Linked DNA regions of Homo sapiens: all the other regions are linked to region 3. The links are contacts of gene promoters, found by promoter capture Hi-C in blood cells and fetal thymus (Javierre and others, 2016). All regions are on one chromosome and are shown on one strand. The core of a region is centred on a gene start or on the middle of the fragment in contact, and the rest is flanking DNA. Distances in the headings are between cores, read along the strand shown. Region 1 overlaps LINC01357 (long intergenic non-protein coding RNA 1357). Region 2 overlaps CTTNBP2NL (CTTNBP2 N-terminal like). Region 3 holds the start of RHOC (ras homolog family member C).

Evidence for each region. Contacts are between HindIII fragments. The CHiCAGO score rates a contact against its expected background, and 5 or more counts as called.
Region 1: a contact is called between a fragment that was not itself captured here and the fragment with the promoter of RHOC in region 3, in 1 of 17 cell types (endothelial precursors). The highest score is 5.9, in endothelial precursors.
Region 2: a fragment that was not itself captured here is called in contact with the fragment with the promoter of RHOC in region 3 in 2 of 17 cell types (total B cells and naive B cells); the score reaches 7.3 in total B cells.

Annotation. Positions count from the first base shown.
Region 1 is chr1:112,876,747-112,879,956 of GRCh38, forward strand. LINC01357 (long intergenic non-protein coding RNA 1357) reads left to right here. Exons shown (of 2, transcript NR_189282.1): 2 at 984-1,125. Among named protein-coding and RNA genes, the nearest start is that of MIR11399, 3.7 kb to the right of the region's middle. RefSeq lists an enhancer at 1,509-2,106. The HindIII fragment of the contact is 2,256 bases long and covers 210-2,465 here.
Region 2 is chr1:112,458,606-112,462,183 of GRCh38, forward strand. CTTNBP2NL (CTTNBP2 N-terminal like) reads left to right here. Exons shown (of 6, transcript NM_018704.3): 6 at 1-2,559. MIR4256 (microRNA 4256) reads right to left here and starts at 3,228; the gene lies at 3,165-3,228. The HindIII fragment of the contact is 4,916 bases long and covers 1-3,578 here.
Region 3 is chr1:112,705,832-112,709,063 of GRCh38, forward strand. It overlaps RHOC (ras homolog family member C), which reads right to left and starts at 1,296. Exons shown (of 6, transcript NM_175744.5): 1 at 1,247-1,296. RefSeq lists a silencer at 1,016-1,735. The HindIII fragment of the contact is 12,151 bases long and covers 1-3,232 here.

The sequences.
Region 1 (3,210 bases), core at 88-2,587, 170 kb after region 3:
GTACTGGGGGTTAATACCTGGGTGATATATAATAATAGTATGTACAACAAACCCCTGTGACACTCGTTTATCTGTGTAACAAACCTTCACGTGTACCCCCAAACCTAAAATAAAAATTAAAAAAAAAGAAAAAGATATGGCTATGAGGTGGTAATAACATACAACAAGCTTTATTTGGGCCGTGTTTTGACAGGGTTGCCTGCTGAGGAAGCTTTTCACAGCATGAGACCTTCCGCAGGTAATGACTGAGGCCACCAGCTAGAAGAGAAGGAGGGTGGGGGAGATTCTGGGGGACACGGAGATTGGAGCGGATCCTTAGATGTCTAGATGATGCCCTCAGTAGTAGGGTGTGGAGTCTCAGAGTCAGAGAGATCCAAAGGGCAGCTATGGCTGGTGCTTTTTTTTTTTTTTTTTTTTGAGACAGAGTTTCCCTCTATGGCCCAGGCTGGAGTGCAGTGGCGTGATCTTTGCTCACTGCAAGCTCCGTCTCCCAGGTTCATGCCATTCTCCTGCCTCAGCCTCCTGAGTAGCTGGGACTACAGGTGCGTGCCACCACATCCGGCTAATTTTTTGTATTTTTAGTAGAGACGGGGTTTCACCGTGTTAGCCAGGATGGTCTCGATCTCCTAACCTCATGATCCACCAGCCTCAGCCTCCCAAAGTGCTGGGATTACAGTTGTGAGCCACCATGCCCGGCAACTGGGGCCTTTTATAGCACCAGAGTTTATTGTATCTGTGGCTAGTAAATGTGGGATTCTGTTTTGTGGGGTATGCAAAACCGGAAGGCTGTCAATGACTAACGATCTGTTTATTTAGACTATATTTAAAGCAATTGGGTGTATAAAAAATTTGAGCTTGGCACTGGTAAACTTTTGAGGCAATGATACCAGTCTGCTGTGAAGCAATAAAAAATATAGGGCCAATATAGAGTTAATATAACTTTGGCTTATTATGTAACAGCATGTCTGTCTTTGATTCTTTAGGCTCAATCAAACCTTCAATGGCCCCGAAAGACATCTTGATTGAAACCTCATGAGAGACTCTGAGCCAGAAAACCCAGCAACTTAGAACCCAGATACCTGACCATCAGCCACTGTGTGAAATAATAAATGTTTGTTGTTTTAAGCTGCTAGTAATATGAGTGTCTTGAGAAACAAAGCCAGTCGGGCTGCACTTAAGGCTGGCTTTGTGTTCCCTCCAGCCTTTGTCTTCCCCCATCATGACAACTTGTGCTCTTTCTCCCAGGAGGCTGAGGATGCTGCTCTGAAACCAGCCAGGCAAGAACCTCAGTTAGCATCAGCAACAGCTGCTCCTCAATTTGCTTTCTGAATTATTTAGCCCTTCTTTGCTTCTATCCTAAATCCAGACCTTTTAAAATATTAATATTTTAAATATGCCTGGGCCTTGGCTTGGAAGTCTGTATTTCTCTCCTGTCTCTGCCCAAGGCTAGACGTCTTAGAGAAGAGTTATCTCTGCCCTGAATGATTTTCTCTTTGGCTCTGGCTCCTGGAAATTAAATCTGGCTGGGTTCTAACCAAAGAAAGGGAAACCATTTTCACAATGGAATCAAAAGAGTTTCTTTTCTACAAATGCAGCCTTTTACTTGCCCAAGCTCACAGGGCTTGTGTCACAGCTGGTGATCTGAGACCCAGACCCTCTCACCACCTCCCAGCCACCACCACGCCAGAGGGAGACAAAGCTCGCACTGCTGTGAGACGTTCTCTGCTTCCCATGACCGCTGCGTCATTTACTTATCTCTCAGTTCTCCTGCCACCCCGTGAAGTCCCTGAAACCTCTGGGGATGCAGGAGCCCAACACAGCCGACAGACCAGGAGAGGGGTCCTGAGCTCTGCTGTCGTGCAGTGGCTCTCTGCTGGCCTTCATGTCCTTACCTGCAAGTTGAGAGGGTGGCACCATCTCTCAGGGCTGCAGAAGTTGGAGTTTGTGAGTCTGAAACCCCATTTGGCCGTTAGAAAGCCAAGTCGCACAGGTTATAATACACCTCTGACTGGCCCCCAGGACTTGATTCCTCACCCAGGGTTCAATCCTACAACTGGGCTGCGCCTCACTCACCTCCCCAGACTTTATGCCAGGCATAGAGGGAAGTGGGACCTTTATTCTGAGAGCTAAGGGAGGGCTCCTTCCTGCTTCTCAGCCTTCTCAGGAGCCCTTCCCTGGGCACCTTCTTTGCCTGGTGAACTCAGACTTTCCTTCCTTCAGTGCAGAGCCACCCCCTAACTCCTGCCCACCCAGCCTCTCAGAGCAGGGCAGGATGGCCTATCCAATATCCCCTCTCCCTCACCCTTGCATCCTCTCCTGGTCCTTTGGGGCATTCCCCAGATGTGTGAATTTACTATTAATTCTGTCTCCCCTGTTAGTCTGTTAGTTCCAGACAGGGCAGGAAACTATAACCTCTAGGAAGGGCTGTATCTGTGTTTCAACAATTCCTGATTTTCATATCCTGAAGCTTCAGAACCCCTGGAATAATTCCCAAGCAAATCAGCAGCCTCTCCTTCCAGCCAGGAGGCATCACAGCTCCAACGTAGCACAACCCAGCTTGGGGGCTTGGGCTACTGGAAGGGAGGCCACAGGGTCAAGATTAGGCTGGAGATGCCTCAGAAAGTATCTAGAAATGTCTGGTATGACCAGGCTGCAATCAGAAGAGGAGTGTCCAGGCCACTGGGTGACTGTCCTACTATGTCCCAATGGCTCCATCATTCACGGAGCGCTGCAGAACTTCGAATGTGGGACAAACACATGCCCCTAGGACTGTTGAGGTTGCTCACCTCCTCAATCTAGACCTGATCTGTTCAGAAGGCAGGGACAGGGTCTGCACTACCCTGTCTTCCTCACAGCCTGGCACAGGCCTGGCACCCATAAGCCCTTGCTCTGTGGCTCTGCCTGGCAGAAGCTGACCCAGTGTCAGAAGAGCCTTCTAGCAGTTGGAGCTGCCTGGGCACCAAAAGGGCTGCTTGAGAGGATGAGTCCCTGTCACTGTCAGTGCTCAGGCTGAGACCACATTAGCTGGGTCAGGTGCTAAGCTGGGAGTGCTGTGCTGGGAGGGAATTGCCTTCTGTTAGTTGTTCATTTCTTAGCTTGAATCATTTCCCACAGCATTTCAATAGCTAGGTAAATCAAGTCTCCCTAGTGGAATCTTAGATGATAGGTGAGGAGGGTGGTTTTGGGGCAGCGGATCCAGGCTACTGTTTC
Region 2 (3,578 bases), core at 547-3,046, 250 kb before region 3:
AATCAAAGGAGGAATTTTGTCCACAGGAAGGTGAGGAAATTCCAAATGAAGCCTAGATCTTCAGTATCATAAAAAGGCAGAGCTGGCCAGGCACAGTGGCTCATGCCTGTAATCTTATCACTTTGGGAGGCTGAGATGGGAGGATCTCTTGAGACCAGGTGTTCAAGACCAGCCTCATCAACATAGTGAGACCCCATCTCTATTAAAAAAATAAATAGGCAGAGCTAAACTAACCCCAGTGTCACAAAACTCAACTGGTCATATAAATGAGTGAAACAGGCCTCTCACACAAGCGATGTAAAACAGCTGGGAGCAGTGGGAGCTGTGGCAAACTAAAGTGCCCAAGCCGCATTTAAAAAGGGCATCTGTTCAGCTCCATCTGCTTGCTGCGGTGCAAGAATGCTAAACCAGGATTACCAGTTCTTCACATTTTTTGAAATCCAAATTTTCATGAGAAACATTCTCATTTTTAAATATCAAGAAGTGATTTTAAAATGTTTAAATGGTGCTGGTTAAACAAACACGTCTGCAGCTGGATTTAGCTTGCAAGCTGCCAAGTTGCAACCTCTTTCATTCTAGAAACTTCTGTCATTTTCATCATAGCAAGTCTATGCGGACAAAAGCCTCCAAACTTTCCAACTGTGTAGGCCAGTACAGCTGGCAAGGTTCATAGAATATAATGGCTATCCCCCTCTGCCAAATAAGACTATCCACAACCCAGCTCAGACACAGTGGTTATATGATTTTGTGTCCATACAGGAGAGGCCTTGGTGTCTTCACATACATTCTCTGAGCCAACATCTATCCAGCAGCCCTGACCTCCTGCTATAATTTAAGTCTATTTCCTTTTAATCTAATAAGAGTTGATAGTAAAAAGGCAGGTGATGGAAATCAGTGTATAAATCACAATGGAGTATATTGGCAACTCCACAGCTTATAGTTTGATAAAGGCAAATACATGAAAAATAAAAATGCTACTAATGCCCCAAGGTGTCTATCAAAATGATGTAGGGGGTATCTTAAACTGTCCAAGGCAATCATGCATTGAACTTTATTCCTATGCAGAGCCAAAACGAATAGTGTTGATAAAATAGCTAAACTTTCTAAACTGGAGAGGAGGCTACAGTGCCAGAGAGTTATTGTCTCTTTTGCTTTAAATGGTAATCTTAAAAGTTGCATTGTGCTCTTCCTTTGTTTTGGGATAGATATATATAGAGAGAGATACTATAAGGAAGTTTATTTCTTAGGAAGTGCACTGAATAATGTATTTCTTTTACAGTGTAATATGGGGGTGGGGATATGCGAAAGAAATGTGTATTTTTGCTAGTTGCCTACCTTCTGAGATAAATAAGCACAATCTTGCAATGGATCCAATAACCCAGTTAGGTATTATAGATTAGTATTTAAGTTTGCTGTAGATTGTGTGTGTGTGTGCTAAGTAAAAGTTCCATGATTCACAATTTTAGTATTAACCCATGTTGCAAAAGCTGTTACTGGCCAACAGATTGTAATGATGTGTACCATATAACACAAGCATTAACTAGGCATTAACGTTTGTAAAGCCAAATATACCATGCAGAAGTCTTCATTTTTATAGCAGACTGCATTAAAACAAGTTAAATCTTGCTGTTTGGGGGGAAATAGTCTTGTTTGTACAAAGTGAAAAATGGCACAATTTGGGCATATTTTGTTGGGAAGAGGGGGTGGTGTAGAGGGAGCACTTGACTGTGGCTTTGACAAAACAAATGAAGTCAATGACCCATCCAGGTTAGACTCCATAAGGAACTAAGACATTGATTTTCTTTAGAGTCTTAGAGCTGGAAAAAGCCTTTACAATAATCCAGTCTGTGATTTTTTAAACCTTTTGGTGGTTCTGGACCTTTTTGAGAATCTTAGAAAAGCCATGGAGTTTATCCCTAGAAAAATGAATATGCCTATATGCAAAATTTGTTTGATGGCTTCATAGGATCCAAAGACCCTGAAGCCATCCATGGCTCATGTATTTCTGCTTAAGAAAGCATAATCTTGTTCTGCTCTCTCATTTTACAAATGATTAATGCATCCCTTTTCAACTACTCCAGCGCTGTTGCTGCTGCAATGTTAGCAAATGCAAGCCAGAGAGAAGCACTTGAAAATCCTTTGATGTCTAAAAAATGTTCAAATAGTGTGGATGTTTACATATCTGAAGTTTTCAGCATTTAAGCAAATTAATGATCATTTCAACAAATACTAGCATATCCGGTTTCCCTTAATAGCCTGTCAGCAGTGCTGCCTTGTCAATTTGTGTGTGTGTGTGTGTATGTGTGTGTGTGTGTGAATTCATAAGGAGTGCTTCTGATGCTTAGTCCTTGAAATGGAACTTCAACTGTCTTTCAAAACACTGGCTTCAAAATAGGATGTGTTTTCCTAATGAATCAGAAGTGGGCAATGAGCATTGTTCCACAGGAATAATTTTTAATTTAATTTCTATAAAACTAGTTGAGAAATGAGAGCCTGTCCACCCACCATTTGTGTATCAGTGGCCAATTCATTAGTAAAAATAAAGGAGGGGAAAGGAGACTGGAGTAGTGGTTCTCAAACTTTACTGTGCGTAAGTATAACCTGGGAAGCCTGCTAAAATAAAGATTTCTGGAGATTAGATCCTCAGACTAGCTGATGCAGCTAGTCTGTTTTGAGAAACAGTCCTTCATAGCCCTTACCTGTTCTTTCACAACAACTTGCTATTTGCCTCTGACCTAAGGAAATGTCTTAAGCTCCTGAAACTGGTTTGGCAGAATGTCAGTGATATTCAGAGTCAAGAGTGCCTACTTGAGTACCAAGCACCATGCTAATGATTTCACATACATATTACCTTATTAATCCTCACACGGGTGCTGTGAGGTATTATTATCCCCAGTGTAGTGATGAGGTAGTTGAGGGCCAGAGATCTGTGCAAGGGCCCTTAGCATATGACAGCCAGGATTTAAACCTTAGTGCTTTGTTCTTTCACTACCAGTATTTCCCAAATGAGAGTCTCTGGGGAGGAGCAGATTCCCAGGCTCCTCCCCTGGCGATTCTGATTTCAGTAGGCAAAGGTGGAGCTCTAGATAAATGCCTTGGTGATTCTTCAGATAGAGCAAGTTTAGAAAATGCATGCGGGACACCATGCTGCTCCACAGCCACCCCAGAAATGGATCATCAGACCTAATCAATGCCAGGAGACCTTCATCAGGTCAGATAAATGGAACAAAAATAAAACATCATTAATTCCCCTCAAACAACATGTTTTTTAAGTATCTAAGATGAACCAGAAAGCAAGGTGCTTATTAGGGAAGACACAAGTTTAATCCTGTTCCCTGCCCTTAGGGTACTCACAATCTAGTTGGGGAAACAAAACATTAACAAAATGATACATAGTGAGTCCAGAGGCAACAGTTTGATAGAATAATGCAGGCGAGCTTTTAAAAACCACAGGGAGGGCCAGGCGCGGTGGCTCTTGCCTGTAATCCCAGCACTTTGGGAGGCCGAGGCGGGTGGATCACGAGGTCAGGAGATTGAGACCATCCTGGCTAACACGGTGAAACCTCGTCTCTACTAAA
Region 3 (3,232 bases), core at 46-2,545:
AGTATGCCACTGCTGTCCCCCCAGCAGGGTAATTCAGACGGCACCAGAGTGGTGGGAGGCAGAGGACAGAAACCCGGGGTTGAGGCATGCGTTAAGGGACCTGGAGCCTCCAGCCCAATTAGAAGACTTTCCCTCCAGGCTATGATTGGGCCAGAACAGCAGGCAGCCCAGGCCAGGACACTAGGCCCAAGGCCAAGATGGCATGGACAACTCCCTGTGAGAGGCAGCCCCAGAGGGACTGTCCCACTGACCCCTTAAGAGGGGCAACTGAGCCCCACACAGGGCCTGGAATGGAGCCTGGAACTTCTGGGGCCTTCCCCAAGACAAGACAGTGTGGCTACATCAGACCTCTCTCCAATCGCTCTCTTGAATTCCCAGATGATCCAGAGCGGCCGGTTGACTTTGCCGGCCCACCCTACACCTAGGGAAGGAATCCGTTCTGGAGATACCAAGAGATACTGCATTCTCAACTTTAAAACCAGAGTGAGGGCGGGACTCGGCCTCGGGATCCCAGTCCCAAACCCCAGGATACTCTTTCTTGGTTCGAGTATGAAGAAGGAGGATTCTCAATCTCATTTTCTCTCTCTCTCTCTCTCTCTACACACACACACACACACACACACACACACACACCACACACACACACACACACACACACACACACACACACACACACACACACACACACACACACACACACACACACAGAGTTGGATCCTTCCCCATCTCCCTTATCCTCAACACAAGCGGGCTCCAGGAACCGTCCAGGGCGGCGTCCAGACCCTGCCGAGCAGTGGCAGGCCCCAATGGTCACATCCCGCCCCTATTCCCGCCATACCTCCCTCCTGGCCTGGAGGAATTCCCACCCCATCCCACTCTAGGTCCCCTGCGGCCGCCCACCCTGGGGGCTGGGGCGTCTGAGTTGAAGTTCCCTCGCCCCTCGCCCGGCGGGGCAGGTTCCGGGAAGCTGGGAGGAGAAGGGAAGGGGCTCCGACTCGGACCTCAGGAGGCCAGAGCCCCTGCCGGCAGGTCCGGGCCCCCTCGCTGCAGCCCGGGGAGGGGCCGACGCGGTCCGACCACCGCCCAGCCCGGATGCCGACTCCGCTTGGAGGGAACGGGGTCCACGCCCAGGCCGAAGCCCCTCCTCGCACGGGCCCCGATCTCCGGGCCAGCGAGGAAGGGAAAGTGCTCTCCTGGGGACGAGTTCCCAAGACGCCCCACCGCCCGCAGCCCCGGCCCAGGGTACCTTCCGCTCCGCCGCCTCCAGCTGCGCGGCCGGTGCCGGAGGCTCAGACTGACCCCAGGGCCCCGCCCCGCCCTCCTCCAGCGCCGCGGCGGGGAGGGCGGGCCCGGCAGGGGGAGGGTCGGCCGGGGGCGGCCCTTGGCTCGGCCCGCCCCGGCCCCGCGCAGGGCCGCAGCCACCGGCCCCCTCCGCAGGCCGGGGACTGGGGGCCAGGGGCGTCCACCCCTCCAGGTCGGGGAGAGCCACGGGGAGATTCCTGGACTGCGGAGGAGCCGGGCGAGCGGGGGGAGCACGACCCGGGTGGACTCAGACTCTGCCCAGCCTTCAATCCCCTAGGGGAGGACCGGCGTCGGGAAAGTTAAGAGGTGCTCGGGGTGGGGTCAGGAAGGGCCGCTGCTGCCCTCCTGTGGCCAAGCGGCCACCCGCTCCTGCTGCACCTGGGACCTCGCGGGAAGCGGGACTGGGAAAGGGTATCCGCCGGGAGGTCCCAGGGCCCGGCGCGGGTGTGTTGGTTGGGGGGAGATGTCCACCCTCTTGTTCCTAGGATCGTACAGCCCAACGTCATCCCCCAAACTTGAAGACCTCTCAGAGCCGTTCAGACCCAGACCACCGTTCCTCCTCACAATTCGCTTTCTTCCCTGGGCCTGGAATTTCCAGGAGTCCAATTCCTACCTACTCCTCAAAGGGTGCGCCTAGAAATGCTTCTGGATCCCAGCTGTGAATTCTGTTCCCACTCCTAGGTCTGACTTGGCGCATAGGATATTTACCTACACGCGTATCTCCTTTCCCTGTAAGGGAGCTGAGGAGGTGGGAGTAGAATGAGGACGTCCACCAACATTTCATTGGCTTGTGCTTGGGACACTACACAGCTTAACCCTTTCAATATTCATCACAGATCTCTGGGGAAAATATACCCATCCCCTTTTGCCCATAGAGAAGCTGAGGTTCAGAGAAATCAAGTGGCTTACACAACTGTTTTTGACTTGTGACAGCAAGAATTCACACAGCCGGGCCTGTCTGGCTCCAAACTGGTGGTCTGGCCCTGCTACCTCACGGGCTCCTCCAGCCTGTCCCTTCCCCCGTTGTCTAGCAGAGTGAGTGGCACATAATAGGTTGTCAACAAATATTTGATGAATGAATGAATGTTAGGAGTCATACAGACTTTAAATATCTGAAGTGCAATCCAGACATTTGACAAATGTGAAAACAGGTCCGCAGCAGTTTGGCCCCAGGCCTCTTAACTGACTCAATGAACATTTCTCGAGGGTGAACTGAGAGCTATGTTCGGAAGATCCATTTCTGCCTTCAAACAACTTAGAGTCTAAATGAGGAATGCAATTTCAAGATAGCTAACATTTATTGAATCCATATTACATGGACCTGGGTCCACATACATTAACTACAAGAATCCCATGAGGTAGCTATCTCCATTTTACTGAGAAGCAAATTGAGGTTCAGAGAGGTTACAGAGCTAGTGCTGGGTCTGACACTAGAACCCAAACAGCTGAACTCTAGAGCCCCTGTTCTTAATTCCTACTCCCTACTGACTCCTAATGTAGACAGTTACAATACCGGAGGTCATTGCTGTAGTGTGGGCATGTGTGGGCTGTGCGATACCCAGTCCTGAACAACAGGTGAAGTTCTCAAGATAAGGTGATGTGTAGATTTTTTTAATTTTAATTTTTTTTTGAGACAAGGTCTCTGTTGCCTAAGTGTGCAGTGGCAAGATCTCAGCTCACTGCAGCCTCAACTTTCCAGGCTCCAATGATTTTCCCACTTCAGCTTCCCCAGCAGCTGAGACTACAGGCGTGTACCATCACACCTAATTTTTGTATTTTTTGTACAGATGAGGTCTTGCTATATTGCCCAGGCTGGTGAGGGGCCTTTTCTAATTATTTTGCTCATCTTTATTTTTGCTTCCCTTAACTTACTTTGGGTTTAATTTGCTGTTCTTTTTCTAGCCTCTTAAGGTGGAAACAGATCACTGAT